Linked DNA regions of Homo sapiens: regions 2, 3, 4 and 5 are each linked to region 1. The links are contacts of gene promoters, found by promoter capture Hi-C in blood cells and fetal thymus (Javierre and others, 2016). All regions are on one chromosome and are shown on one strand. The core of a region is centred on a gene start or on the middle of the fragment in contact, and the rest is flanking DNA. Distances in the headings are between cores, read along the strand shown. Region 1 holds the start of EIF4G1 (eukaryotic translation initiation factor 4 gamma 1). Region 2 overlaps LINC01839 (long intergenic non-protein coding RNA 1839). Region 3 overlaps LINC01839 (long intergenic non-protein coding RNA 1839). Region 4 has its middle 4.7 kb from the start of DVL3. Region 5 overlaps DVL3 (dishevelled segment polarity protein 3).

Evidence for each region. The method cuts DNA at HindIII sites, captures the fragments that hold promoters and counts their contacts. A CHiCAGO score of 5 or more calls a contact.
Region 2: a contact is called between a fragment that was not itself captured here and the fragment with the promoter of EIF4G1 in region 1, in 1 of 17 cell types (naive B cells). The highest score is 5.9, in naive B cells.
Region 3: a contact is called between a fragment that was not itself captured here and the fragment with the promoter of EIF4G1 in region 1, in 2 of 17 cell types (endothelial precursors and naive B cells). The highest score is 5.9, in endothelial precursors.
Region 4: a fragment that was not itself captured here is called in contact with the fragment with the promoter of EIF4G1 in region 1 in 3 of 17 cell types (M1 macrophages, endothelial precursors and total CD8 T cells); the score reaches 5.5 in M1 macrophages.
Region 5: a fragment that was not itself captured here is called in contact with the fragment with the promoter of EIF4G1 in region 1 in 11 of 17 cell types (total CD8 T cells, naive CD4 T cells, naive CD8 T cells and 8 more); the score reaches 9.1 in total CD8 T cells.

The regions. Positions count from the first base shown.
Region 1 is chr3:184,313,252-184,315,951 of GRCh38, reverse strand. It overlaps EIF4G1 (eukaryotic translation initiation factor 4 gamma 1), which reads right to left and starts at 1,346. Exons shown (of 33, transcript NM_198241.3): 1 at 1,278-1,346; 2 at 407-463; 3 at 96-189. The coding sequence starts at 155. RefSeq lists enhancers at 77-698, 1,423-1,923 and silencers at 536-1,245, 1,266-1,595. The HindIII fragment of the contact is 4,143 bases long and covers 235-2,700 here.
Region 2 is chr3:184,519,781-184,522,480 of GRCh38, reverse strand. The region is part of intron 6 of LINC01839 (long intergenic non-protein coding RNA 1839); the gene reads right to left. Among named protein-coding and RNA genes, the nearest start is that of LINC01840, 36 kb to the left of the region's middle. The HindIII fragment of the contact is 7,583 bases long and covers 1-2,700 here.
Region 3 is chr3:184,539,221-184,541,920 of GRCh38, reverse strand. All of the region lies in intron 6 of LINC01839 (long intergenic non-protein coding RNA 1839), which reads right to left. Among named protein-coding and RNA genes, the nearest start is that of LINC01840, 16 kb to the left of the region's middle. The HindIII fragment of the contact is 803 bases long and covers 850-1,652 here.
Region 4 is chr3:184,149,318-184,152,017 of GRCh38, reverse strand. It overlaps the pseudogene RPS3P3. Among named protein-coding and RNA genes, the nearest start is that of DVL3, 4.7 kb to the left of the region's middle. The HindIII fragment of the contact is 3,986 bases long and covers 1-2,700 here.
Region 5 is chr3:184,170,378-184,173,083 of GRCh38, reverse strand. DVL3 (dishevelled segment polarity protein 3) reads right to left here. Exons shown (of 15, transcript NM_004423.4): 15 at 1-2,706. The coding sequence ends at 2,329. Among named protein-coding and RNA genes, the nearest start is that of AP2M1, 3.1 kb to the left of the region's middle. RefSeq lists an enhancer at 1,249-1,543. The HindIII fragment of the contact is 3,938 bases long and covers 1-2,706 here.

The sequences.
Region 1 (2,700 bases), core at 97-2,596:
ACTTTGCCCTGACACAGATGGGGGTAGGAAGATCCAGAGGCTGGAGACTGCCTGGTCTCCCCCACCCCCACCCCTGCTAATTCCTCCCTAATTACCTGTGGGAGTCCGGGGGATGGGGCGGGTGGGGGGCCTGTGGACTGTGGAGCTTTGTTCATTTCATTTGGTGCCACATCAGGGTCCCCCCAGCACCTGTTGGGAAAGAGTGGCGCTCAGGAAGAGGAAGGGACCCAAGCTTAAGGCAAATGGGGCGGTGAAAGGGTTGATGCAAGGGCTGGGTCCCATACGGAGTCCCAGAGATGCCAAGAGGGTGAAGCAGAAAAGATACAGCCTGTCCCCACCAACATGCTGTCAAACCCGCATCACTTCCAACCAACCCCTGACCTACTGAAACAGACCCCTCACTCACCCCCTCGATTAAGAACAAGTCCACGGTGCGGCCTACAGGTTCTGGGCATCCGAGGGCCTGGGGTTGGGAGGTGAGGGTATCAACCTGGCTCCGCGGGGCCCCAGACCAACCAGACCGGAAATTCCAGGTCTCGCTGGCACCAGGCTCCCGGATCACGAACGGAGCTAGCTGCTTCGGCCGTGGCGTCCCCACCCCCCACCCGGGGACACCGGGTTCGGGCCTGGCCCAGGGGCACACAGGATACGCCTGCCGCCGGGGAACCCGCACTGGGCCAGAAGCTAGGCCTGCCGCCGCCCAGGAGTGTAGGCCAGGAAGGGCGGGAGTCAGGCCCTAAAAGGCCAGGCGGGCGGCGGCCGTCGAGGAGCCGGTTTCAGGCAAGTGAGGGTCGGCCCGGAGGGCGGGCGGGGCCGGGGGCTCCTCCCTGCCCGCCGCCACCGCCTCCCTCCCCTGCGCCCTCCCTGCGCAGCGCGGGCCAGTGCCAAAGAACAACGTGTCACTTCCCGGCGGCCTGGCCGCGAAGGGGGGAGGGGGCGGCGGGCCGGGAGCCGTGGTGCCTGCGCCCGTGGGCTGCCGGGCCTCCTCGGGTCAGGCCGAGGTGGCATTTCGCGGCGACGAACCCGGCGCCCTACCAGCCCGCGGGGCCCGCATAGTCCGGCCCTGCGCTCCCCACCCCCACCCAGCAGCCAGGCCCGGCCGGGCCAGGCACACGTGGGCCGGGGATCGGGACCCTGGCGGGCCGGGGCCCTGGGTCGGGCCGCGGGGCCAGGGCGCCGGGGCGGCGGCGCAGGGTGGCCGGTCCCGGCCCGGATGGCGGCGGATGCGGGGGGAGGGGGTGGGGGGGCCGGGTCGGGCCCGGACATGGCGGCTTTACCTTCAGTCTCCTTCAGTCCGCGCGGCCGAGCCCCACGCAGCCGCACAGACGTAGTCCACAACCATTTCCGGCTCCCCGCACAGATCCCGCTCGGCGGCCACCGCTTCTCCGCAGGCGCAGCCGGCGCCCCCACGTGACCGGCGCAGGGGGCGGAGCCGCGCCGGGCGATCTGCGCCGCCGAGCACATGGGATTTGCCCCCGCCCCGTCACGTGACAGCCACAGCCCGCCCCCGTGTCCCCTCCCGAACTTTGAAACTCCCAGACCGATTCCCCTCTGTGTTTCTCTCTGTTCCGCGATTCTTTAGTTCATTCATATTTTAAGCAACCATTTATTGAGTGCATGCTAAGTACAAGGCGAAGTGCTGGTTGAGGGCTGAGAAACTGAAATCAAAGTCTCGGCAAAAAAAAAAAAAAAATAAGCGGGGCGCGGTGGCTCACACCTTAATCCCAGTACTTTGGGAGGCCGAGGTGGGCGGATCACGAGGTCAAGAGATCGAGACCATCCTGGCCAACATGGTGAAACCCCGTCTTTACTAAAAATACAAAAATTAGCCGGGCGTGGTGGCGCACCCGTAGTCCCAGCTACTTGGGAGGCTGAGGCAGGAGAATTGTTTGAGCCCGGGAGGCAGAGGTTGCAGTGAGCGGAGATTGTGCCACTGCACTCTAGCCTAGCCTGGCGACAGGGCGAGACTCCATCTCAAAAAAAAAAAAGAAAGAAATTAAAGACTCCGTCCTGCCTAAGTAAATCGTGATACAATACGAATTATGCAGGCTTTGAAAATAATTTAGATTAGGTCATTGAAAGGCCAATAACAAAGGAAATTAAAAGGATAGAAACATTCTAATTAGGCAAGTAGTATGAGATTTGTAGTTTAAAAAGATCATGGGCCGGGCGCAGTGGCTCACGCCTGTAATCCCAGCACTTTGGGAGGCCGAGGCGGGCGGATCACGGGGTCAGGAGATCTAGACCATCCTGGCCAACATGGTGAAACCCCGTCTCTACTAAAATACAAAAAATTAGCTGGGCCTGGTGGCGCACGCCTGTAGTCCTAGCTACTCGGTAGGCAGAGGCAGAGAATTGCTTGAACCCGGGAGGCGGAGGTTGCAGTGAGCCGAAATTACGCCACTGCACTCTAGCCTGGCGACAGGGTGAGACTCCATCTCAAAAAAAAAAAAAAAGAAAGAAAAAAAGAAATTAAAGACTCAGTCCTGCCTAAGTAAATCGTGATACAACACGAATTATGCAGGCTTTGAAAAGAATTTAGATTAGGTCCTTGAAAGGCCTATAACAAAGGAAATTAAAAGGATAGAAACATTCTAACTAGGCAAGTAGTATGAGATTTGTCGTTTAAAAAGTTAGAAACATTCTAACTAGGCAAGTAGTATGAGATTTGTCGTTTAAAAGGATCATGGGCCGGGCGCG
Region 2 (2,700 bases), core at 12-2,511, 210 kb before region 1:
ACAAAGCGTACAAATGGAACTCAGCTGCCCACCTGCCCACCTCAGGTTATCGGCTCCCCCACCAGCAGGCTTCCGCTGCTTACAGGTTCTTGTGTAGCCTTCCAGAAATATTGTAGTCTCCTACAATTATGCATATGATTATATTCTCTCCAAATCTATCCCATCCATTTTTTTGACACCAATTAAAGTATAAAATACAGTTCAGCACTTTGCTTTTCCCTTTGTAATCTTCCCATGTTAGTGCATAAAGTTTAGCTCATTTTAAAAATAACTACACAGTTCATTTTCCAGTTCCCTGTTAACTTGTGTCCAGTCTTTTGCAATAACAAACAACACTGCAATCATCATTCTTATACATACAGCTTTACAACAATGGGAGCATCCCTATAGGAATGGGCAGAGAATAAATGCATGTGTAATTTTGATAGACTGCCAAATCGCTCTCTAAAAAGATTGCAACAATTTACAATTCCAACAAACGCATGAGAATTGCCTATCTGCATTGCCCTCATTCACGCTAACACTTTATATTATCAAATTTTAAAATGAAGAACTTATTTTTTCTTTAATATGCATTTTCTTAATTATGGTTGAAATAGAACCCATCTTTTTGTATGTCTTTAAGCCATTTATACATCTTTTCTTGCTGTATGCTGATTTTCTTTTGGGCTGTATTTATTCCTATGTTGATAGTAAGAGCTAACTATATATTGAGGAAATTAGCTATTTATATAACATATGAGTTGCCGTATTTTTTCTAACTTTTCATTTTTTTTTACTTTTTTTGTTTTTTCCATACAGAATTTTGCTTTAATGTATTTGCACATGTTCTATTTTTCCTTTTTTGTCTTCTGAGTTTTGTCCTTTACTTAGAAAGGCTTTCCCCACTCCAAGAGTTCTATTTTTAAAATTGTTTCATCTTTTATTATAGTACTTTACATGCATTTTTATTGTGAAATGTACATTTTTTTAAAGTTAGCATACCAGTTCTATAAAAATCTTTGTTGGGAATTTTGATTAAAACAGTAACTTCATAGAACTTGAGGATAAGCGGTAAAAAAATAATAATAATAAAAAAGAAAAAGAAAAAAAAAACCCAGTAACTTCAGGGCCAGGCACGGTAGCTCACACCTATAATCCCAGCACTTTGGGAGGCCGAGGCAGAAGGATCATTTGAGGCCAGGAGTTCAAGGCCAGTCTGTGCAACATAGCAAGGCCCCATCTCTACAAAAATTAAAAAAAAAAAAAAACTTAGCCTGGCTTGGTGGCGTTCACCTGTAGTCCCAGCTGCTCCAGAGGCTGAGGTGGGAGGGTGGCTTGAGCCCAGGAGTTTAAGGCTGCAGTGAGCCATGCTCACGCCACTGCACTCTAGTCTGGGTGACAGGGTGAGATGCTATCTCAAAAACAAACAAACCAAAAAACCAGTAACTTCATAGACTAATTTGGGGAAGTAGACAACTTTATGATATTGAGTCTTCCTATTGATAAACATGGTATATATCTCTATATAGAAAACTAGGATTTTATACATACGCATATATATATACACACATATATATGGCTTATGATAAATATAAAGTGAACAGTTGTGTAACTACAACCCAGGTAGAGAAATAAAATATTGTCGGGCCGGGCGCGGTGGCTCACGCCTGTAATCCCAGCATTTTGGGAGGCCAAGGCAGGCGGATTGCGAGGTCAGGAGATCGAGACCATCCTGGCTAACACGGTGAAACCCCGTCTCTACTAAAAATACAAAAAAAATTAGCCGGGCATGGTGGCGGGCGCCTGTAGTCTCAGCTACTCAGGAGGCTGAGGCAGGAGAATGGCGTGAACCCAGGAGGTGGAGGTTGTGGTGAGCCGAGATCGCGCCACTGAACTCCAGCCTGGGCGACAGAGCGAGACTCCGTCTCAAAAAAAAAAAAAAACCATTGTCAACACCTTAGAACTGCTCCTCCTGCTCCATTGTGCCCCTTATAGACAATAATCTCCCTCCCCACCAGGGAGGGATTTCTAATTTCTGAAATGCCTGATTTCTGTAATAAACAGTATATGTATATCTCTAAACAATATATCTTAGTTTAAAAAAATATATTATTCAAATAGAATGAGGCTGGGTGTGGTGGCTCACGTCTGTAATCCCAGCACTTTGGGAGGCCGAGGCCGGCAGATCACCTGAGGTCAGGAGTTAGAGACCAGCCTGGCCAACATGGTGAAACCCCGTCTCTACTAAAAATACAAAAATTAGCCAGGCATGGTGGTGCACACTTGTAGTCCCAGCTGCTTGGGAGGCTGAGGCCCGAGAATAGCTTGAACCCAGGAGGCAGAGACTTCAGTGAGCTAAGATCGCACCACTGCACTCCAGCCTGGGCAACAGAACGAGATCCGTCTCAAAAAAAAAAAAAAAAAAAAGAATGAGATGATGCTGTATTTGTTTTAATCCTTTGCTCCTTTCTCTCTGTATTATGTTTGTGGGATTATTTCCTGTTGTTACACGTGGCAATAATAGTGAGCTACAAATCAGTGCTATATTTGGTATATCAACCTTGGAGCCAGCATTCTTGTTAAATCCATTCATTAAATTAAACATATTATCTTTAGATTGTTCTAGAATGTTTACATACACAGTCACACTGCCTACAGCTAATGATAGTTTTATTTCCTTCTTTTAAATAATACAATTTTTATTTTATTTTATATATA
Region 3 (2,700 bases), core at 2-2,501, 230 kb before region 1:
ACTCAGGGGTGGATTGGAAAAAATTATTGGAAATCATTTTGGAATTTTCCAATAGTTTTGGAATTATTTTGGAATAATTTTCCAATAATTTTGGAAACTATTTCTCCAAAATTATTGGAGAAAATCCTCCAATAAATAGGCGGAGTTTCAGATGGTGCAGCTAATCATCCCCTTTGTGTGGAAAGAGAAGGGTCCCAAAGTTAAGATATGTACAACTCATGGGTAGTGGCTGATGGCTCAGCTGAGTGGTTGGAGGCTGGGACCTGAAGGAAAAAGGCTGGAAGATGAGGAGCAGCAGGTCTGGGCTGGAGGATGTGTCTGGACATTTGGGAGTGGGCCCAAGTGTGAAGGTCTTTGTAGCGCATGTTCACAGCTGCCAGAGAGCATCCACTGCGGACAGGCACTGAACAACCAACTAGACAAAATGACCTGGTCAACCTCCATCAGCCTTCCTTTGCCATTGGACAGCCCATTGCCGGCATGATGGGCACAGTGGCCACGGTGCAGAGATGGAGGCTACTCGAGACCCAGCAGCTTGATTCCTCCTCACCAAGCCCCATCTAGGTGGATCTAGATACTTCCCTTAAATTCCAACCTGCTCGGATGCCAGTGAAGACAGGGCGCCTTGTAAGAGTCACCAGCAGGGGGCGGTGGCAGAACAGGTACAACCTTTGGCAGCAAAGGACTCACCTGTGGAGAAACTCCAGCGGAGGGAGGACGCATGTTTCCCTTTTCCTTGTTACAGAGTAGAGCCATGGAAACTTCAGGAACTGGGGAGAATCCCAGTTCTACCCAGGGTGGGCCAAGTAAAGAAGGCTCTTGATACGTTCAAGAGTAGGTTAAAAAGCTTGACTAATGCTGAACTGAGGGGCTAGAGGAAAAGGTGATTTCTATTTTCTTTTTTATTTAAAAACCCATTATATTGTATTAGAGTTTTAAGGTCTTTCTTTCTTTCTCTTTCTTCTTTCTTTCTTTCTTTCTCTCTCTCTTTCTCTTTCTTTCTTCTTTCTTTCTTTCTTTTTCTTTCTTTCCTTTTAGACGGAGTTTTGCTCTTTTTGCCCAGGCTGGAGTGCAATGGCGCAATCTCGGCTCACTGCAACCTCTACCTCCCTGGTTCAAGCAATTCTCCTGCCTCAGCCTCCCAAGTAGCTGAGATTACCGGCGCCTGCCACCATGCCCAGCTAATTTTGTAGTTTTAGTGAGACAGGGTTTCACCATGTTGGCCAGGCTGGTCTCGAACTCCTGACCTCAGGTGATCCACCTGCCTCGGCCTCCCAAAGTGCTGGGATTACAGGTGTGAGTCACCGCGCCTGGCCAGGGTTTCAAGGTTTTCAAAGCACCCTCAGGTAGTTTTTTTGTTTTTTTGTTTTTTTTTTTTTTTTGTAGTGAAGCTGCAAAACAATCTTGAGAAGTGGATATTATCATCCTCAAGAAAATACAGGCTCAGACACGTTAGCCAACTTGTTTCAGGTCACAGCTGGACAGAGAGGCTGGACCTGAACCCGGGCCCTTCCAAGTCAAATGACTTGGATTCAGACTCAATTTTGCCACCGCTGGATTTTTGGTCCTAAGAGAGAGCCTCGGCTTTCTCTGGACCTTGGTTTCCCTCCCACTGAGGGAGAACAGCAACCTTAGTCATCAGTCCTTAAGCTTTGGCCTTACCACACCTGTGCAACCGGTGGGGGCGCTGGAGCCTGCTGGTACCAGGCTGCCCCAGAGCCCCTTGTTGAACGTTCACAGCACCCCACTGCGTGCAGGCCAAGGTGGAAAATGGTTGACATACTTTTGAACCAAGAAATAGATGTATCGTGTACAAAATTTAAAAAAACAAATGTCCCTCCCTGTCTTGCCCGTGGTAAGCCTTTCCCCTCCCAGGAGGCCACTGCTGTTACCAGTTGTCTTGTGTGATCCGTGTTCATATCAAACAGCGAGCTCTGCTGGGCCAGGCGGTTCCCCTGCGGCCACAGGCGTCCCAGGATGTGCCAGGTTCAGGTTCAGCTGCCATGAAGCACTTCTCTATGGTAGGCTCTTACACCGATATTGCCACTATTTTTTTTTTTCTCTTTTGAGACAGAGATTCGCTCTTGTTGCCCAGGCTGGAGTGCAATGGCACAATCTTGGCTCACCGCAAACTCCGCCTCCCAGGTTCGAGCGATTCTCCTGCCTCAGCCTCCTGAGTAGCTGGGATTACAGGCATGCGCCACCACACCCAGCTAATTTTGTATTTTTAGTAGAGACGGGGTTTCTCCATGTTGGTCAGGCTGGTTTCGAACTCCCGACCTCAGGTGATCCACCCACCTCGGCCTCCCAAAGTGCCGGGATTACAGGCGTGAGCCACCTCGCCTGGCCCTGCCTCTTTTAATTCTAAACAAAAACACAAAACCTGTAAGGTAGCATTAAGACTCCTAGTTTGGCTAAAGTCACCCAATAAGACAATGATTCCACCTGGGCCCAGCTCTAGGTCCTGTAACGCCTTTGCCTGAACCACTGCTCCAAAGCCACCTGCAAAATCAGCCTATGCATGCCCCCACATCTCCCACCCACAAGCAGCAGCGGCACTGCTGGAGCCACCACAGCTCTTGAGTTTGCCAGTTGTTAGTTCTCGTTATGTGCTGCGTGTGTGCATGTGCTGTGTGTGTGTGTGAGCCAGCGTGCACCTGCACGTCTTTCTATGGAGACTGTGAGCTCCCTGAGGGAGGC
Region 4 (2,700 bases), core at 39-2,538, 160 kb after region 1:
TATTATACCTATCATTAGTTTTTCCCATGTAATCTAATAGTTTCTCAATACACATTTTGTTCATTCAGTCAAAGCTATTAGATAATCCATCAGTTCAATTTTTCCCTGGAGGCTTCCATCTTTTTTTTTTTTTTTTTTTAGATGGAGTCTCACTCTGTCGCCCAGGCTGGAGTGCAGTGGCGAGATTCCGGCTCACTGCAACCTCTGCCTCCCAGGTTCAAGTGATTCTCCTGCCTCAGCCTCCCAAGTAGCTGGGATTACAGGCGCCTGCCACCACGCCCAGCTAATATTGTATTTTTAGTAGAGACAGGGTCTCACCATGTTAGCCAGGCTGATCTGGAACTCCTGACCTCAGGTGATCGCTCGCCTTAGCCTCTCAAAGTGCTGGGATTACAGGCGTGAGCCACCACGCTTGGTGGAACCTTCCATTCTTTTGCTCTGGTCTGCACCGCCGGCTATCTCAGCCTGTGCACAGCTGTCATCCTGGGACTTCTCTGCATCCTCAAAATTCCCTTTACCTGTCTCTGTGTTGAATCTGTTTCCTGGATACTTTACTCCTTTGTTTTATTTACCTGTTTATTGAGACAAGGCCTTGCTCTGTTGCTCAGGTTGGAGTATAGTGAGGTAATCATGGCTCACTGCAGCCTCAAACTCCTTGGCTCAAGCGATCCTATCGAAGTGCTGGGATTATAGGTGTGAACCACCGTACCCAGCCAACAATAAATTCTTGAATTAAGACCAGGTCCATGCCTGTAATCCCAACGCCACTGCACTCCAGCCTGGGTGACAGCGACACTCCTTCTCAAAAAAACAAACAAACAAAAAAGTAGCCGTGTGTGGTGGTAAGCACCTGTAATCCCAGCTACTCAGGAGACTGAGGCACGAGAATCGCGTGAACCCGGGAGGTGGAGATTGCAGTGAGCTGAGACCACATCACTGCACTCCAGCCTGGGCAACAGAACAAAACTCAGTCTAAAAGAAAAAAAAAAACGGAAAAATGGTAATTAAAATGTTCTTTTTTTTTGAGACAGAGTCTCACTCTGTCACTCAGGCTGGAGTGCAGTGGTGTGGTCTCAGCTCACTGCAATCTCCACCTCCTGGGTTCAAGTGATTCTCGTGCCTCAGCCTCCTGAGTAGCTGGGATTACAGGTGCACACCACCACATGCGGCTAACTTTTTTTTTCTTTTTTTTTTTTTTTGAGAAGGAGTCTCACCCTATCATCCAGGCTGGAGTGCAGTGGAGCTATCTCGGCTCACTGCAACCTCTGCCTCCTGGGCTCAGGCGATTCTCCTGCCTCAGCCTCCTGAGTAGCTGGGATTACAGGCATGCACCACCATGCCCAGCTAATATTTTGTATTTTTAGTAGAGACAGGGTTCCACCATGTTGGCCAGGATTGTCTCAAACTCCTGACCTCAGGTGATCTGCCCGCCTCAGCCTCCCAAAGTGCTGGGATTACAGGTGTGAGCCACCATGCCCAGCCCTAATTTTGTATATATTTTTTTGTCTTTGTATGAGATTTTATTAAAGGTCTTTACAGAGCAACATCCAGACTCCAGAATACAGCTGCTAAGGAGACCCTGTTATGCTGTAGGGACTGGCTGGGGCATGGCAGATGGCTCTGGCTTCCCACCCTTCTGTTCTGAGATGGGGGTGGTGGGCAGTATCTCATCTTTGGGTTCCACGATGCTCACGTGGTCAGGCAGGGGCTTCTTAGGGCCAGTCTTACCAGTTGGGTCCCAGGGCAGCATGATCTTCACCTTGATGCCCAGCACACCCTGTCTGAGCAACACGTGGCACACAGCAGTGCCAACGTAGTAGTTAATAGGGTCTCCACTGTGGATCGTCAGGCCATCCACAAACTTCATGGATTTAGCCCTCTGTCCTCGGAGTTTCCCAGACGCCATGACCTTGCAGCCTTTGGCCCCACTCTCCATGATGAACCGCAGCACACCATAGCAGGCCCTCCACACAGCAAGCCCTCCTAGGAGTTTGTAACGCAGAGACTCTGCCTGGGCAATGGCACACAGACCTCTAGTGGCAACCTTTTCAGCATAAAGCTCTACACTGCCCTCTGGAAAGCCAAACCTCTTCTGAACTATAGCAGTCAGTTCCCGAATCCGTCAGCCCTTCTCACCAGGAATATTCTGTGTTCTGGTGGCTAAGATAATGATTTCTGTCCTGGTTGGTGTAACTTGCATCTCAACTCCAGAGTAGCCATCTTCAGCCAGCTCCTGAGTAAGAAACTCATTCAGTTCAGCTTTGAAGATGTCATCAGTGACAAACATCCTCTTCTTGGAAATTTGCACAGCCATCTTGCCGCCACGCTCCACTGAAAGGAAAGGCCTAATTTTGTATTTTTAATAGACACAGGGTTTCACCACATTGGCCAGTCTGGTATCAAACTCCTGGGCTTAAGTTATCCTCTGCCAACCTTGGCCTCCCAAAGTGCTGGGATTACAGGTGTGAGTCACATCACACCCAGCCTTTTTTTTTTTTTTTTGGAGGCAAGGTCTTGCTCTGTCTTCCTGGCTGGAGTGCAGTGGTGTGATCATAGCTCACTGCAGCCTCGAACTGGGCACAAGTGATCCTCCCACCTCAGTCTCCCGAGTAGCTGGGACTACAGGCACACACCACCACCCTTGGCTGATAATTTAAAATTTTTTGTCGAGATGGGATCTTGCTATGTTGCCCAGCTGGT
Region 5 (2,706 bases), core at 128-2,627, 140 kb after region 1:
CTATGTATTTGGGAATCACCAGCATATCAGCAGCAATTGAGGACATCAGGATGAATGACTCCATTTTGGGAGTAAATAGAAAGGAAAGAGAAGTGAATCAAAGATGGAACGATGGAAGCACTGATACTGACAGGCATGAGCAATCGTTGAGAAATTCTCAAGAGAGTCGGACAAGACAGAGTCAGAGAGAGAAGTACATGAAACAGCCCTGTAGTGGTGGCTAGAAGCCATGGACTGGGTTGGGAACAATTCTAGAGCTCCCAGAAGGCAGGCAAGATTGAGTCACACTTCCAACAAAGCCCTCTGCACACCAAAACCCCAGGAAGTATTGTTTTTCTTTGTTAGTTTGCTTTTGAGACAGAATCTCACTCTGTCACCCAGGCTGGAGTGCGATCTCAACTCACTGCAACCTCCGCTTGCTTCCTGGATTCAAGCGATTCTTGTGCCTCAGCCTCCTGAGTAGCTGAGATTACAGGCAGGTGCCAAAACACCCATCTAATTTTTGTATTTTTAGTAGAGACAGGGTTTTGCTATGTTGGCCAGGCTGGTCTCGAACTCCCGACCTCAAGTGATCCACCTGTCTCAGCCTCCCAAAGTGCTGGGATTACAGACGTGAGCCACCGCACCCGTCCAAGGAAGTATTGTTAATTGAAATAAATGCCAAAATGTTCCTACCTTGGTTTACCCCAAAACCTGGAGCTAAGAACTTCATCTCACTTTTGACACCCCAGCCCCCAAAATATGGAAGCCCAGGAGAGCCAGGAGAATTTATAGCAGAGGCTTAAAGAGAAAGTTATGATTTGTTTAAAGTAGAGAATAAGGTGAAAAATAAAACCTGGTACTCTGTCTGGAAGTCCTGGAAGTCTCCTTGCCCAACCTCAACTGGCCTGTGGGCTCCTGTGTCCTTGCTCTGGGATGCCATGGTGAATGTGAAAACAGGGGAGGTTGTGTGTGGGGGTGGGAATGGCCTGTCGGTTGCAAGGCGAGTCCTTTGCTGAGCCCAGCCTGAGACCCAGCTTATGGGCTTTATCCAGGTGAGAAAATGCTGGGGACATGTGTGCGAGGTTTAAGGTCTACCAGGAAGGGGAGAAGGGTGTCAGGGGACCAGCCCCACAACCTAGGAGAGGATTAGGAGGGTCCAGCCCTTTGGGCAGGGACCAGCCCTGAGGCTTAAATGAACTTGCATAGGCACCTGTGTATGCATCTCTGTGCATGTATGCATACATGAGTGAGAGAGAAAGATAAAGAGAGCTAAAGAGGCCCCCCTCCCCCCGCCGCAGGCTGCCACACGTGGTGCGATCCGATTCTCTCTGGAAAGGAGGAGAGTCTCTCATGCATGGGTGAAGTTGGGCCCTCCCCAGAAGCCTAGTGACTCATTATGTTAACGTGTGGGTGTGGGGGCTGGACATCCTTGGGAAGCCCTGAGGGGCTGCTGAAGCAGGGTTCCTGGTCTCCTCGGAGGCTGGGCCTCCCCTCGCTGGGGGCTCACAGAAAGTCAAACAGCCCGAAATTCTTGGCTGCTCCAGGCCCAGGGTAAATTGGGGGAGGAAAAAAGAAAGAAAAGAAATGTTTCAGGCCTGGAGGTGAGATGAGCCTGCTGGTTAGTAGGGTTAGGGGTCTGAAGGAACCAGCACGCAGGGCAGGCATGGGGCAGGGGTAGAGCAGAGATGCTCCCTGGAAGCCACCAGCTGCTCAGGCAACTGAGGGGGCCCTCTGGGCCTCTGATCTAGGCACAGGCAGGGATGGCATGGATGGCTATTGGAGGCGACTACAGCTTTAGGTTGCAGGACTGAGGCAGCAGGCAGGGGGATGGTTAGTAGGGGCAGATGAAGCAAATATATTTTGGTTTCAGTAATGTGGGGTAAAGTCAAGAGGTTTGCACACGTGCCTGATGGGGTGGGGTTAATAGAGGGATGATGTAGCTGAATAAATGGTGAAAGGGAGCTAAAGGGGAAACGAGAGAATGAGGGAGTGAGCGTGCCACCAAGGTCATTGCTGGGGTCAACTCCCAAAATGGGGGTTGCAGAGGGGAGTAAGGGGTAGCACCAACAAGTCTGGTCCCAGAGACAAAAGGGGTCCTGGGAAGTCCTGCGCAGGGATTAGTGGGCAGAGGAAACGAACTGGGGCCAGAGGCAGGTTAGGGGGCTGCAGAGCCAATCGGTAGGTGCACCCCACCCTCGCAGCACCCTGCGAGCAGTTAGCGCACCTGGATTTAGTTCCTTTTATTTCCCTTTCAGGTACCAGACAAAGTAAAAAAGACGGACGGATGGAGAGAGGAACGCAGCCGGCTGGGGTGGGAGCGGAATGGAGCTGGGGGAGGGGCCCTGCTCACATCACATCCACAAAGAACTCACTGGGGTTTCCCATGGCCATGCGGAAGGACTGTCTGCTGGCGGTCAGTTCCGGGGGCACTGAGGCCAGGTCGCGGCCCGGAGGGGCTCCTGGGGGCCCCATGGCCGCGGGCGGCGGGGGCATCATCAGCATGGGGGGGCCGTAGAGAGGGGGCACTCCGGGAGGACCGTAGCTCGGGTGTGTGTGGTGGCTGCGAAGGCTGCTGGCCAGGGAATGGTGGCTGCGGTGGCTGTGCTCGCTGGCCGCCGGCCCTGAGCGCTCGCTGGGCGCCCGCTCCCGCGGCCCCCGCAGGCTGCTGCGTGTGGTGTGGTCCGATTCGCTGCCGCTGCCCCCGGACTTGGAGTCCCCGGCCTT